Linked DNA regions of Homo sapiens: all the other regions are linked to region 2. Evidence: promoter capture Hi-C in 16 types of primary human blood cells and fetal thymus (Javierre and others, 2016). All regions are on one chromosome and are shown on one strand. The core of a region is centred on a gene start or on the middle of the fragment in contact, and the rest is flanking DNA. Distances in the headings are between cores, read along the strand shown.

The links. The method cuts DNA at HindIII sites, captures the fragments that hold promoters and counts their contacts. A CHiCAGO score of 5 or more calls a contact.
Region 1: the fragment with the promoter of HEPN1 here is called in contact with the fragment with the promoter of PUS3 in region 2 in 2 of 17 cell types (naive CD8 T cells and activated CD4 T cells); the score reaches 5.7 in naive CD8 T cells.
Region 3: a fragment that was not itself captured here is called in contact with the fragment with the promoter of PUS3 in region 2 in 3 of 17 cell types (fetal thymus, non-activated CD4 T cells and activated CD4 T cells); the score reaches 6.8 in fetal thymus.
Region 4: a fragment that was not itself captured here is called in contact with the fragment with the promoter of PUS3 in region 2 in 1 of 17 cell types (total B cells); the score reaches 5.1 in total B cells.
Region 5: a fragment that was not itself captured here is called in contact with the fragment with the promoter of PUS3 in region 2 in 6 of 17 cell types (naive CD8 T cells, total B cells, total CD8 T cells and 3 more); the score reaches 7.6 in naive CD8 T cells.

The regions. Positions count from the first base shown.
Region 1 is chr11:124,917,803-124,920,502 of GRCh38, reverse strand. It overlaps HEPN1 (hepatocellular carcinoma, down-regulated 1), which reads right to left and starts at 1,253. Exons shown (of 1, transcript NM_001037558.4): 1 at 1-1,253. The coding sequence starts at 752. The coding sequence ends at 486. It overlaps HEPACAM (hepatic and glial cell adhesion molecule), which reads left to right. Exons shown (of 7, transcript NM_152722.5): 7 at 1-1,298. The region is part of intron 1 of LOC107984406 (a long non-coding RNA gene); the gene reads right to left. The HindIII fragment of the contact is 3,231 bases long and covers 1-1,726 here.
Region 2 is chr11:125,901,821-125,904,520 of GRCh38, reverse strand. It overlaps PUS3 (pseudouridine synthase 3), which reads left to right and starts at 1,315. Exons shown (of 4, transcript NM_031307.4): 1 at 1,315-1,351. DDX25 (DEAD-box helicase 25) reads right to left here and starts at 13. Exons shown (of 12, transcript NM_013264.5): 1 at 1-13. The coding sequence starts at 3. The HindIII fragment of the contact is 3,679 bases long and covers 603-2,700 here.
Region 3 is chr11:126,478,029-126,480,728 of GRCh38, reverse strand. All of the region lies in intron 4 of KIRREL3 (kirre like nephrin family adhesion molecule 3), which reads left to right. Among named protein-coding and RNA genes, the nearest start is that of KIRREL3-AS1, 64 kb to the left of the region's middle. RefSeq lists an enhancer at 1,330-1,831. The HindIII fragment of the contact is 3,515 bases long and covers 1-2,700 here.
Region 4 is chr11:125,067,595-125,070,294 of GRCh38, reverse strand. All of the region lies in intron 1 of SLC37A2 (solute carrier family 37 member 2), which reads right to left. Among named protein-coding and RNA genes, the nearest start is that of SLC37A2, 5.6 kb to the right of the region's middle. The HindIII fragment of the contact is 4,165 bases long and covers 1-2,700 here.
Region 5 is chr11:125,108,435-125,111,134 of GRCh38, reverse strand. The region is part of intron 1 of TMEM218 (transmembrane protein 218); the gene reads left to right. Among named protein-coding and RNA genes, the nearest start is that of TMEM218, 1.8 kb to the left of the region's middle. The HindIII fragment of the contact is 2,643 bases long and covers 1-2,595 here.

The DNA.
Region 1 (2,700 bases), core at 4-2,503, 980 kb after region 2:
TACGAGTACATTCCTTTTCCCTCTGACCTGGGCGCTAGCAAGGGCAAAGAACCCGAGCCTGCCAGCTTGGCCTCCTCCCACAGCCTCCCTCGGAGGCATGCCATGCCAAGCACTCTTTCTGTCTCTGTTCATGAATAAAAGAGATGGATGGGCTTATTCTTATAGAGAAGTGAATTTCACTTACTCCCCTGGCCCGAAAACTAGACCAAATGAGGAACTGTTTTAGCTCATCAAACTCATATATTCCTCCTGGCTTCCTTACAAAACAAGCCTTTCAAACAATCATTGTCCTCAGGAAAGTTGTTGAGCTTCCTCCAGCTGTGAGAATAAGTCCTAATCTCCAGAGAAATGGTGGGGGGAGGAGGAGGCTTATTGCTTCCCAGCATTTGGGGGGAACATGATCCAACCCCTGGCCTCCTGCCACCCATCTGCCCTGCTCCCACATGCTCAGGTCCCAGGGCACAGAAAAAGGGCAGACTCCCTAATCACACTAACATCAAAATAAAGAGGCTGGGCCGCTGTGTAGCCAGGACATGCCCATGCCACCGCCTATTGAACAGTTCATAGGAGTGGCAGTAATCTACTGTGTGAGGAGAGAGGGCAATTAAAAAGCTGAAAGAGAAGGAGGCCCTCTGTGTATTCCATTCCCTCCTCCTTAATGCCTCCAAGGGTCCTTGCATCCCTAGTCTCCTAAACTCCAGCTCTGATTCGCCATCAACCCATGGAGCAATTCCAAGGCCCCAGTTACCCATCACCTCCACACCAGGTCAAGTTTTGTCTCAGCCCCAAAGGCACTGACATTTCTAGTTTGCCCCCTCTGCCCTGAACCCCACAGCATGCCTGTCTCAGCTCCCTGTCCCTCGGCACTTCCCCAGGCTCATTTGAGCAGGTGTGCCTTCGCAGCTCCCCTAAACTTCCCAGGTGCCTCATCCATAATGAGATAATGCATGTAGGGGAAAAGTTTCTCAAGAAGGTGGAAGAGGCAGCAGGACTTGGATAAGGAGTACCTGCTGGTCAGCCTTGAGATGCACAGGTGAAGGTTAGGGTGAGATGAGAACATGCCATACCCTGGTGCTGAATCCCTGAGGGGCCAGCTTGCCAGGCTTAAGCCAAATCTGCCTTAAATTGGGGGTGGGGAGGGGTAAGTAAGGAAGTGGGGTTTGTTTTTGTGTTGTTTTCATCTTCATCTTTGTATTACTAGCATCCAGCAGAGTGCCTAGCACATACTGGATGCTCAATAAACTTTTGATGAAATGAAATGACAACTTTATTCCACATAAACAAGGGTAACAAAACAAGCTGCTTAAATATACCAGTCATTTCTCTTCTTCTCCTTTCACCTCCTTTACCCTCTTTCCAAACCCCAAATTGTCCGTTCCAAAATCACTTACCCGTTCATTCATTTACTTATTCAGGTGTTCTTTTATTTATTCGACAAACATTTGTTTACCTACCATGGACTAGGCCCTGTGCTAGACACTGCTGATACAGCATAACTATGTCAGGAAGACAGATCAGTAAACAGATTACAATATAGTGTGTAAAATGCAATGGCAGAAGTAGATACAAGGTGCTCTGGGAGCATGTAGATTAGATGTCAGCAAAGGCATCTTGGAGGAGAACAGACCTGAGTTGAGTCTTTCTTAGAAAGACTTGTTAGTTAATCTGGTTTTTAAAAGTATGAGAGGACACACTCCAAGCAGAGGGAGAAGCATGTATAAAAGCTTGGAAGTGCAAGACACGATGGGGGGGAATTCAGGGTACTGAGCCTAGCAGTTGATGAAATTATTTCAGGAAAGTATACAAAGTAGAAGGTGAAGAAAGCTGCAGATAGATTTCTGAGGCATCAGTATGTGTAGAAAATTTAAAAGGACTTCACCAAGAAGGCTTAAAAGGCACAGCCAGCAAGATAGGAGAATATATAGGAGATAACTATATCACACAATCAAAAGAACAAGAGAGTTTCAAGAAAAAGGGAGCATTCGGGACTACAAGGGCAGGGGGCTCACATATGAAATGAAGTTAAAAGTGCATGTTAAATTTGGCAACAATGAAAACATTGAGTGACTTGGCATAAGTAGTTTCAGACATGTAGTAGGGGTTAAAGCCAGATTGCAACAGGTAAAAAGTGATATGTGGAACTTCTCTGCTAAATACTTGAGACTAGATGTTTGAGAGGTCTTCCTGTTTCAAAACAACTAGGTCTTGCTTAAATGATATTTGTTTTGCATTGCTGGCTTCAAGAGATGGGGGAATTTTTTTTTTTTTTTCAGACAGAGTCTCATTCTTGTCACCCAGGCTGGAGTGCAATGGCGCAGTCTAGGCTCACTACAACCTCTGCCTCCTGGGTTCAAGTGATTCTCCTGCCTCAGCCTCCCGAGTAGCTGGGACTACAAGCACGTGCCACCATGTCCAGCTAATTTTTGTATTTTTGGTAGAGACAGGGTTTCACTATGTTGGCCAGGCTGATCTCAAACTCCTGACCTCATGATCCGCCCACCTTGGCCTCCCAAAGTGCTGGGATTACAGGCATGAGCCACTTCCCTGCCAGAGATGGGGGAAATTTTTAAGCAGTCAGAAGTAAAACAAAATTTAAAAGCACAGTGAGCTCAAAGTACTTAGCACTCATTAAATATGAGATTACCAAGGGAGGTGAAGCAAGATGGCTGAATAGAAGCCTTCACTGATTGTCTTCCTGCA
Region 2 (2,700 bases), core at 66-2,565:
CATGGCTGCGATTGCTGCTCCCGCCCCCAGCACGTGCTTCCACCACCGGCGCGAGGCGGTGCTGGCCCCATCCGCTGGCCAATGGGCTTCCTTAGGGGGCAGGCGTCCGCGTCCGCGCCCGCGACCACCGCGGTGCGGCGCGCAGGCGCTGGAAGGCTGGGTGGCGCGCGGAAGGGGCGGAGGGCAGAGAGCGGGGCGGGGGGCAGAGAGCGGGGCGGAGGGCAGAGAGCGGGGCGGAGGGCAGAGAGCGGGGCGAAAGGGCGCGGACCGGAGGGCAGAGGGGGCAGCTTCCGCAGAGTGGAGAGCGCCCCCCGCGCCGCCCCGCGGCCCGCCGCTCACACAGCCCTCCAGGCGGGAGCCCCCCGGACTCCCCGCCGCGCTTTACGCCCCGTGTCGGTTTCCCTGGAAATTTCCGCCTCCACATCACAAGATGTCAGAAAGGTTAGCGAATTGGTTAGCAAAGTGGAGACAAAATCTGATGAATTTGATATGACGAATGACCTCGAATGCCACAGTTGCGGAAAGGAAGCAGAACTGTTCAAGCTCTAACTGCTGTTCCTGCCCTAGATACCTGTGATGTTCCACATAGGCTTTTTAAAGCTTTTATTCTGAAATGTGGTCTCTTGTTAAAAACATTACCTTTCGGTATAACCTCTACGTCCTACATGCGTTTGCATAATCCGGTATAGATCCCTGGATCCCTGGTACTAATGATTTAATGACCGCTCAATTTGGACGAAAGAACCAAATTCCACCTCCCCCCCGCCCCCCAGTTTTCTAATTGTAATTTTGAGATTTTGATCAGCATTTCTGGAATTGGGGGCAAAAATACAAAAACCCACACGAAACTGCAGTCATGATCTCTCCGTGGTGCTGAAGCAACGCTCCCCGCTCTGTTCGGTCACTCTCAGGGCACCTAGTCGTTTGTTTTGAGATTATCATATTCATTTCAGCTTTTAATTTGAATTCTAATAGTAAATGTTTTTGTCTCTCAATGGTAACTTTCTTCTCATTTAACTAGGTATAAAATCGAGCCAAGATCTTCAATCTTTTAGTTTTCGTATAAGGATAGCAGAATTTGAAAAATTACCTTTTTTCTATTATTTTAGCGTAGCACTACAATTCCTCCTTTTATTGCTGTCCCGCCACAGGCCCAGATTCTGCCCTGTGGGCGGAGAAACGGTAGCTGGACTAGAAAACCTCAGGTAGATTCTAGCACCAAGCTCGGTTCTCAGAACTACATTTCCCACAAACTTGGACTACACCTCCCATGAGGGCTCGGGCGCCTGCGCAGAAGACGCACAGTGACAGCTTCCTTTCTCGGAAACGCGGCGCGGCCGGCTGCCGGAAAGTAAGTGTGGGATTTTTGGAGTGGGTTACTTTCTGGGTTCCACAGGGGAAGGGACAAATGGACACACTGCTGAACGGTTGTCTGTTGTCTTCTTTTTGCCCTCTTTCACATACTTTGGTCTTTTCAGGAAAGCATTGCCGTATGGAAATGAGACCTCGCTTAAGACCATGTATTTTTCTTTTGTGCCTGGTACTTTCTGGAGCTCTCGGTGGAAACTCGCCGCAGTAGGGTCGTCTTTAATTCCGTTGTGACGGGAGCTTCAGTGGTACTTGTACTGTGGAGTACAAAAGTGCTCTGCTGCCCCACTTAGAATTGGGTGCTCATAAAACAGTAGAAGTTGAGAACCCAGGAGTATGTGGGAGGCTGTGGCAGCAATTTTCAAATTATTTTGGGGATTGCCTTACATACAGACCACGATTGCTTTCTAGTGATCATAGTGCGTGTCTGCTAATCCTTTGGACAGTACTCCCTCTTCTTCCCTTTGGATTAATATAAAGTTTATCAAGAGGAATGCTATTTATGTGTTAACCCACTGGTTCCTGAGATTAGGACTTTTTTTTTTTTTTTTTTAAGACTGTCGCCCAGGCTGAGTGAAGTGGCGTGATCACTGCTCACTGCAGCCTCTACCTCCTGGGCTCAAGCGATCCTTCCACCTCAGCCTCCAACTAGCTGGGACTGCAGGCGTGCGCCATCTTGGCAGCCTAGTTTTTAATTTTTTAATTAACACACGGTCTCGCTGTGTTGCCCAGGTTGGTCTCGAACTCCTGACTTCGAGCGACCCCCCCTCCCCCCCGCCACCACCCCGTCTTGGCCTCTCAAAATGTTGGGATGACAGGCGTGAGCCACGGCGCCTGGCCCAATGTATGGAACATCTGGTGATGGCCGTTTTAGTTTGTAATTGGTGCTTAGGGGACACACGAATTCCCTCTCTGTGGTTACTTCGCAGCCCTGGCCAGGGTGTTACTTTAAACGTCTGCTTGGGAACTCCTGCACTTCACCCTGAATTAGGGTAAGGTGTGCTGGAAAAAGCACTGTAGTGTACCAAGTCCTGTTTTTGCCACAAATCTGCCTTATGACCAACTAGACTCACTCCCTGGCCTAGTTCTTTAGTTAGCACGGGAGTTGAACTTTGGAGACTTTGGTAATGTTGGACTTTGAGATCCAAATAATCACTGGAGTGTTTTGCATGTTAAAATCACCATGTAATTTTTGACCTCATAAAAAGTCGAGGTATAAATACAAATTACCTTTAATCCCACTACTCGTTAGGTTTTGATCTTTCCCTGTGTGTACTGAGATCATCCTGTATAGTTTATGATACATTCATGTCACTTAATTTCACCTTCCCA
Region 3 (2,700 bases), core at 161-2,660, 580 kb before region 2:
TCAGACTGCGGGGAGGGAAGGGAGGAGAGTACCTGCCAGGTCTGAATGCCCCCTGGGACAGGCAGAGAGCCCGCTTCGCAGAGCTCTAGGGCCAGGACAAAGGCAGGGGTTAGTGGAAGGGCTGCTGCAGCTGCAGGGATAGTCTGGGAGCTGCTCTAACTCCAACAGAACATGTTGTAGGGTCAAAATCTCGAGTCTAAATTCCAACTTCACCACTTATGGCTGTGTGGTCTTTGCCAAGTAATTTGCCCTCTCTGAGTCTCAGCTTCTTAACCTATAAAATGAAGACCCTAATAGTCCCTGCCTCAAAAGATATTGAGAATAAAATGAGAGGACCTTGGCTCAGCACTTTTCACACAGCCACAAACCTAAATATTATTCCTAAAAATTAGACATAATAACCTACATTTGTATAGCCTTTTACAATGTTCTCTGTGTATCTTTCATATTGTAAGGTAATCCTCATGATAACCCTGCAAGATAGGTATTTTTATTATCTCACTTCCCAGATAAGAGGATTAAGGTTGTCGGATTATATAACTTGTCTACAATCATATGGCTCATAAAGTGATCGACTCAAGTCAAGTTCAGCTCAGCAAATGCATATGCCACCCTGTGCCCTGTGCAGCAGGCAGGCACTCTGCTGGGAGATGGGGATCCGGATGGAGATCATGGTTCAGGGAAGAGACACACACAGAGAGATTTCCATAGGATGTGGTAGCTAGTGAGTCAGGGGATGCCCAGGATGCTGTGGGATCATAGACAGAAGCCCTATACACTTGGCCCAACTGGCAGATTCTAGAAAGGCCGCTCAGAGAGGGTGCCCTCTGAACTAAGTCTCAAAGGGTGTGTAAGAGTGACCCAGGAGAAGACCAGTGGTCCAGGAGAACGCCAGCATTCCAAGCTAAAGAAACGGCATACACAAAGGAAGCTGTTCTGAAACAAGATCGTGTAACTCCAAAGCTAGTAAGCAGGGAGCAGTCTGCCCCTTTCTCTGGCCGGCCCCGGGGGAGCGAAGGGAGCAGGCAGCCTGTGAAGGGATCAAGGGTCCCCACACGTGCTCTTTGTCCAGTGAGCCTTCCCTTCATAGCACTTGTCAGTTTGTCATGATTTCTACCTCGGAACCCTTAGAGCAGCGCTCCTCCAGCTTGAAAATGTATGTGAATTGTCTGGGGTCTTTTCAAAGGCAGATTTTGACTTAGGAGGTCTGAGGTGGAGCACAAGAGTCTGCTTTTCTAACAAGCTCCCAGGAGGTGCCAAGGCTGCACACATGTCCGTCTTGGGCACTGGCCTGGAGTGGCAAGGGCCTCCCCATCAGCTCTAAGATGGCAGGCCGTGTATGGCTTCACTCAGCTATCATAGCCTCAGCTTGTGACATGGAGGAGGCTGGTGAGAGAAAGGTTGGGAGGGAGGGAGGCAGGAGGGCAGGACACATGGCAGGCTGACTGCAGGGCTGCAGCGGGGAACCTGGGGATGGAGAAGATGCTGAAGGTGTGGGAGATGCACCCCGAGGCTTCGGCATCCTCCCTCCACTGTAGTCAGTGCTGGAACTCCTAGCACTGACTCTCCCAGAGCCCCTGGGTCTGCGGCAGAACAAAATCAAAGAACCCACAAACGTCCTTCTCCCCACTCAGCCAAGTGTCTCTGATCTGTCACCATGCTCGGCCTGCCGCCCTCTCCCATCCTATGTTCCAGACAAATCAGAGGACAGCAGCCACGGAGAAACAGGCTGAGAATCAGCTCCCAGCACCAAGCCCCCCTCAGCCAGGCTTCCCTCTCTCGAGGAGAGACAGGGAGCACCAACCCTGATGCCACAGCAGCGCAGAGTTCCTACAGCGCTGTCCCAGCTGGCCTCAGAAGGGCTCCTGCTTTGCCCTCCTCCCTCCCACTACTCACGCAGCCCGTTCCCAACTGTACCCAATGCACACACACATGCATGCACACACACAAACACACATATACACACACATATACACACACACACTTACATACACATGTATACACACACCCATACACATGTATACACACATGTACATCTACATGCACATACATACACATACATATATACATATACACATACATACACACATACACACGCATACACACATACACACATATACATGCATATACATATACACATACACACGTGTACACACATATATACACATACACACATATACACACATGTACACACATATATACACACACACATACACACACACAAGATTTAAAACGCTGACCTCAGAAGCCAAAGCCCATGATAACCGTCCCCCCGGCCCCATCCCCACTCCCCTTCTGAGATTCTTTTATTTAACAAATAATATATTCAACAAATATTTCTTTAGCGCCTACTGTGTGATACAGCAATATCACAATGACCAAGATAGATAAGGTCTTTGTTGTCCTTTCTAGAACGGTGACAGATAATAAATGAACCCAGTGATCCAGAAAGTGCAGGGGTGGGTAGTGGAGAGTCACTGAAGGGCTCTTGAAGCTGCACCTTCATTGACGGGAAGAGCCAGCAGAGTGAGGAACAGGAAAGAGCGTTACAGACAGAGAGGAGCAGGGCAAGCCCGGCCCCGGAAGGAGCTGGGTTTGCTGAGCAGCAGAGACGCAGTGGGGCCAGGGTCTGCTGTGTAAGGAGTGGTTGGAACAGACCGAGGCCCCAGGGGCAGCGAGGGCCGTAAGTGCTGGTGCTTG
Region 4 (2,700 bases), core at 135-2,634, 830 kb after region 2:
ATCCGGCAGTGAAAGCCCTTAGCTAACTCCACAGGGCAGAACCATCCATTCTAGCTCAGCTGTGGCCTTTTGCAGCTCACAGGGGAAGATCGAGGTGTGGGAAAAATGGCACCACAGGAGCTCACAGCTCCTGCTCTTCCTGCCTGCCCAATTCACCCTCCTGCCCATTCCTGCTCATCCAGCTGTGGTCACCCTGGTATTTCCTCCCACAGGCTCTTCTTCTGCACGTTCTGGGCCATCCCCCTCAGAGGGCCCCAGGAAATGGGCCCAGCCCCATAAGCACCAGCCACAGTCATCTCCCATGCTGCCAGCTGCCCCCAGACGCACCCACACAGACACTGGTACAAAAGGCAGGAACCAGCCAGGCTCCAGGCTGGGGAACCTCCAGGTGCTCTGTGGCTCTGAAACGCCATGGACAAGCCATTCATTGTCATCCTGACGAGGAAGGCCTAACAGGAGGAGGAGAGCAACATCTTCCTGGACAGAAACTCCGCCATCTCTGACTCTTGCCTGGATGTCTGCAGCTGTCTCCACACACCTGGCGCCACATGACTCCCAGCCTCCTGTCCAGGGGCACCTTTTGTTCCTACCAGCTGGAGCTACATGTTACTACTTCAGAGACAGGGGACAGGCCATGTCTCCACTTGCATGCCTTTGCTGGCTCTGTGACCTCTGCTCAGAACACCTCCAGATCCAAGTCAAAGACTTCCTTCTTCTCCTAATGGAGATGATTCTCTCCCTCCACAGAAATTTATAAGCACCTAGCCAATACCAACTACGCTAGACACTGGGCTAAGTGCTTTAAGCAGCTTCTCATTTAATTTCACCAAAACCCCGTGATATAGGTACATCATTTTTTCCATTTCATAGATAAGGAAATTGAGCCTGGGAGATGTTAAGTAATTTGTCCAAGGCCAAATGGCCATGTAATCTTTTCCCCACCCAACACTATCATTAGGAAGGCAGCGGAAAGACCATGGGCTTACGAGTCAGACTAATCTTGATTCCAACTCCAGCTCAGTCATTTATCAGCTGTGTGGTGCTGGACAGGCTTACATAACTGCTCTGTGCCTCATTACACTCATATGTTCCACAGGGAAGCTAACATTCACCTTGCAGTTCCACAAAAATTACAAATAAACAATGCCTGGCACAAAGTAGTAGGAAAAACAAATAGAATATAGTCAATCATTAGTGTTTACTCAGTGTTTCATATCAGCCTGGCACTGACCTAAGTACCTTACACGTAGTACCTCATTTAAACCTCAAAACACTCGTGTGATACAGGTATTATTATTATCCTCATTTTACAGAGGAGGAGTCCAAGGCCCAGGGCCAGTCCACTTTCAGCTTCCTATTCTGTCTTCTTCACTTCTTAAATGCCCTCCTTGGGGACATGTGAAAGCAGTTAAATGTGACAGAGATTTGATTTCTCATTTTCAGACTATAAGTCTTTATTTTTATTTGTCTGCACCCTGGCCTGTATTTTGTTTAGCACAAGAAAGGTGAATTGGGTTAATATGTATCTGTAATAATAACATCACCATCATTAATAATGATAGTAAAAGCCGCCATGTATTCCATGCTTCCTGTATACCAGGCAATGTATACATATAATCTCTAACCTTTTATGTGTTAAGTGCTCAGCAAGTCAGTTTTCTTCAAAATCTCCCCAACCGACTTCTGCATTCCCCTCGCTGGTCCTCTGAATGACATGGCACATAGGAAATGCCATCCTTTGGCACTCAATAAGTAGAGCAGGGCCTTCTAAAATTGCTGACTGTGTGTACACAGCCCCTCTCCAGCTTGATTCTTAGTTCCAAGAAGGTAGAACCCTGTCTTGATTGTCTTTGCAGGCCTCAGAGCTCAGCATAATAATGTACTTACAGAAGAACTACGTGACATTTAGTGTTTGATAGGAATCCAAATCTAAACTTATCTGGAAGGAAGTAAAAGGATACCTGTTGAGTACCCTCCAGCAGCCACAAGACGTCAAGAATGTTTCCTTATATTATCGCATTTATCCTCAAGAACCCATCTGACTTTTATTGATGAGGAAACTGGGGCTCAGCAAAGTCAAGGCTCACAGTGGTGAAAGGATTTCAACCAAGGTCTGTCATAAATCCCAGAGATGTTGGGGAATACCGTAGCTGAATTCACACCTTGAGAAGTGTGAAAGTGAAGAGTGTTGGAGGCTGGAGAAAGTCATGTTATGCGTATTACTGAGCCCTTCTAGAATGCCAATGTGTTCTAGATGGTTTATAATGATCCACCCTCCCCACTCCCCATTCTCTCTGAAATGTTAGTTACTTTGGTTAAAAGATATAACTAATATACATGAATGAGACTCTACTAGGAACAATCGTGGCAGAGAGGTATGACTTTGTATACATGGTATTGAAACCTGTTTTTGTTTATTAAAAGGAAAAATATTACACATAAGAAAAATGACTGGTTGTTCCAGAATAAGAAAGGGAACAGGGAAGGTCAAATCTGAATGGATACATTTTAGGTTTGTAGAAAGGAAATTTGATTTGTCTTGGATTATAGTACATCAAACAATAAGTCTAAAAATAAGCAATTAAATGTGTTAAAATTTTGCCAAAGTTGGCAAAATCTTGATAAGTTTGTGAATATTTAATTTAAAAAGAGGAAGGGCTCCTGGAAAACCACAAAGATTTGTTCTTTCATCTTTTAAAA
Region 5 (2,700 bases), core at 25-2,524, 790 kb after region 2:
GAGCGGATAGACCGAGGCTCTGCAGCGCTTCCAACCCACAACACCGTCCAGGAGAGGGATGCAAGGAAGAGACCTAGGTTTACTGATCCTCCTTTTTCTATCAACGTGTTAAGAGCAGATGCTACATCGGTGGCATTTTGGGAGCTTGGCAACTGATTTTTTCCCCAGGCTTGCATTTTATCTAATTACAAAGGTAGAGGCGTTATTCTAATATTTTAAAATTCAAAAGATAGTGAAGTGTTTAAAGTAGAAACATAAAAGTGTGAAAGTAACCCCCCCCCCCCGTTATTTTTGAAGGTTTGGAAAACAGCTATAAAGCAAAGTGAAAAGGACTCTTCCAGAGGAGCACTTCACTCCTTGTAACCCACTGTTTTCTGTTGCTTTCAAGGGCTTGAGTCAGTGTGAAAATCGGGGGATGGGTGAGATATCTCCCTCCAGCAGCAGCACTTAGGCCACATTACCCTCTGAGGAATCCACATTTGTCTTAGATAGTAAGTCATCTTATAAGTCATCTTATAATGGCAGTTAGTATTCTCGCTCATGATGATCAACCTGGTGATGAGTACCGTATTTTTAATCCATTAGGTTACCTGTGCAGGGATCAGTCCATTTATTCCTATTTTCTCTGACAGCTGGATGAAAGGGTATGTAGAAACAACCATTAAATGAACACACACATCTAAAAGGTTTTGAACAAACTCTCTCAGAGAAAAACCTCACAGCATTGAGCACAGAAGGAAAACATTAGCCCTGTAGTTGCTTTTGTTGTCAGCTGCTGAACTGTTCAAATTTAAATTATTTTTTTTCACTCCAGTCTACCTGCTTTAAATGCCACAGATATTAAGTAAATGGACTTACCCTTGAAATCGGGTTGGCCAAGCCATCACTTCTCAAAGAAGGTTTAATGATGGCATGAACCCGTTTTTATATTTTATTGTATTGTACTCAATAACAATAATTTAGCTATTCTAATATGGGAAATTATCACAGATATTATTCTCACATTTAAATAAGATAAAAATGACTAGATGTTCTCTCTTCCTCTATAGCAGCACTCTATACTATACCCAGCCCTTCTTTTCTATGCTTAGTAAGAAAATGTATAGTTTGCTTATAAAATTATGAGCTCCATTCTTAAAAGAGCTTGGGAATATTTATCTTATTACTTTAAAGCCATACCATATATAAATCCAATGTCTCACGAACTCTTAAGCTACTAAGGGGGATTGAAGGGCAACATTTCTAATGGCGCCAGCCAGCTTCAACTACCATTTGCCCTCTATTCTAACTGTTAGAGTTGGTCCAAGTCTTCTGGGTTATTTGTGTAATATCCAGAATAGCACAAATTAAATTTAAATAGTTGTTTTCTTAAGAGCAGTACCATCAGCTCAGTCAACTAAGCTAGAAACTTGTGTCATTTCTAACACCTTCTCCCTTGACACAGCTAAGACTGGAGGTCAGACCCTCATCATCTCTTATCTGGAGAATTGCAATAGTTTCCTAACTGGTCACCCAATTCATATGCATCCTGCTGCCCATTACCTTTTTAAAAATTAAAAATTATCACGAAAAATTTAAAAACAGAAAATAGTACATTGGGTAGTATAATATCTATGTTCCACCAATCAGATTAATAAATATTAACATTTTGGCACACCAGCTCAAGTTTTTTATTTTAAAGAAATAAAACATCACAGATTTAGTTCAGATCCCTTTTATTTCCACTCCTAACCCCATTCCCTTTCCTTCCTCCCTCTGCAGAGGCAAATAGTCTTTTGAAATTGTCATGTATTGTTTATGCCCATGTTTTTATACTTTTGCTGTATATACGTTCGTCAGAAACAATATATATTACTGTTTAGATTGTATTTAATTTTAAAAATACAAGTAGTATCATACTGTGGGTTCCATTTTGCAACTTGTTTTTGTCACTCAACATTGTTTTTGAGATATATTCACATCAATACATATAGATCAATTTCATTCATTTTAAGTATTCATTATGAATATATAATATTGTATCTGTTCCCTGATTGATGGACATTTAGGTTTTTTCCTGATGTTTTGCTATTGTAAACAAAGCTGCAATAAACACCTTGTACATGTCTCTTTATGCAAGACTGTGTCTAGAACAGTGGTTCCCCAAGAAGATGTTGCTGCCCGTTTTAGGGTGTTTTGGAATTTGTGAAGATGTATTTTGTTATTCTTTGATTGGAGGCACTACTGGGGTTTACAGATCAGGACTGCGGATACTGGATGTTCTGTAATGTATGGGACAGTCCTCACAACGAAGAATTGTCCTGCATCCTGTGCAAATTTTGAGTATCCCACAGGATACTCATTTATAATTATCTGAGTGTAGAGCCTAACTCCGGTTTTTGTATAAACATAATGTATTTTTTGGCACAGTTTAATATAGTAAAATTTCCAGGAATGCAACTCTAATGTAAATCAGAGGAAAATTATACTTATTTGTGGTTTGGAACTTTAACAAGAGTTGTTCATCACTCTAGCAAATCACATAACTGAAGGCAGCACAGCTCGTGGTATTTGAGTTGCCAGAACAACACACCTGCATAGTCTGCATTTGAAGCTTTTGCATTCATGGTGATTCTAAGTTTAGGTGCAAGCATCTGACTACTGTACTTCATTATGTATTCTAGTGTAGTCAGCCTGAACATTTGTATATTTAAACATATG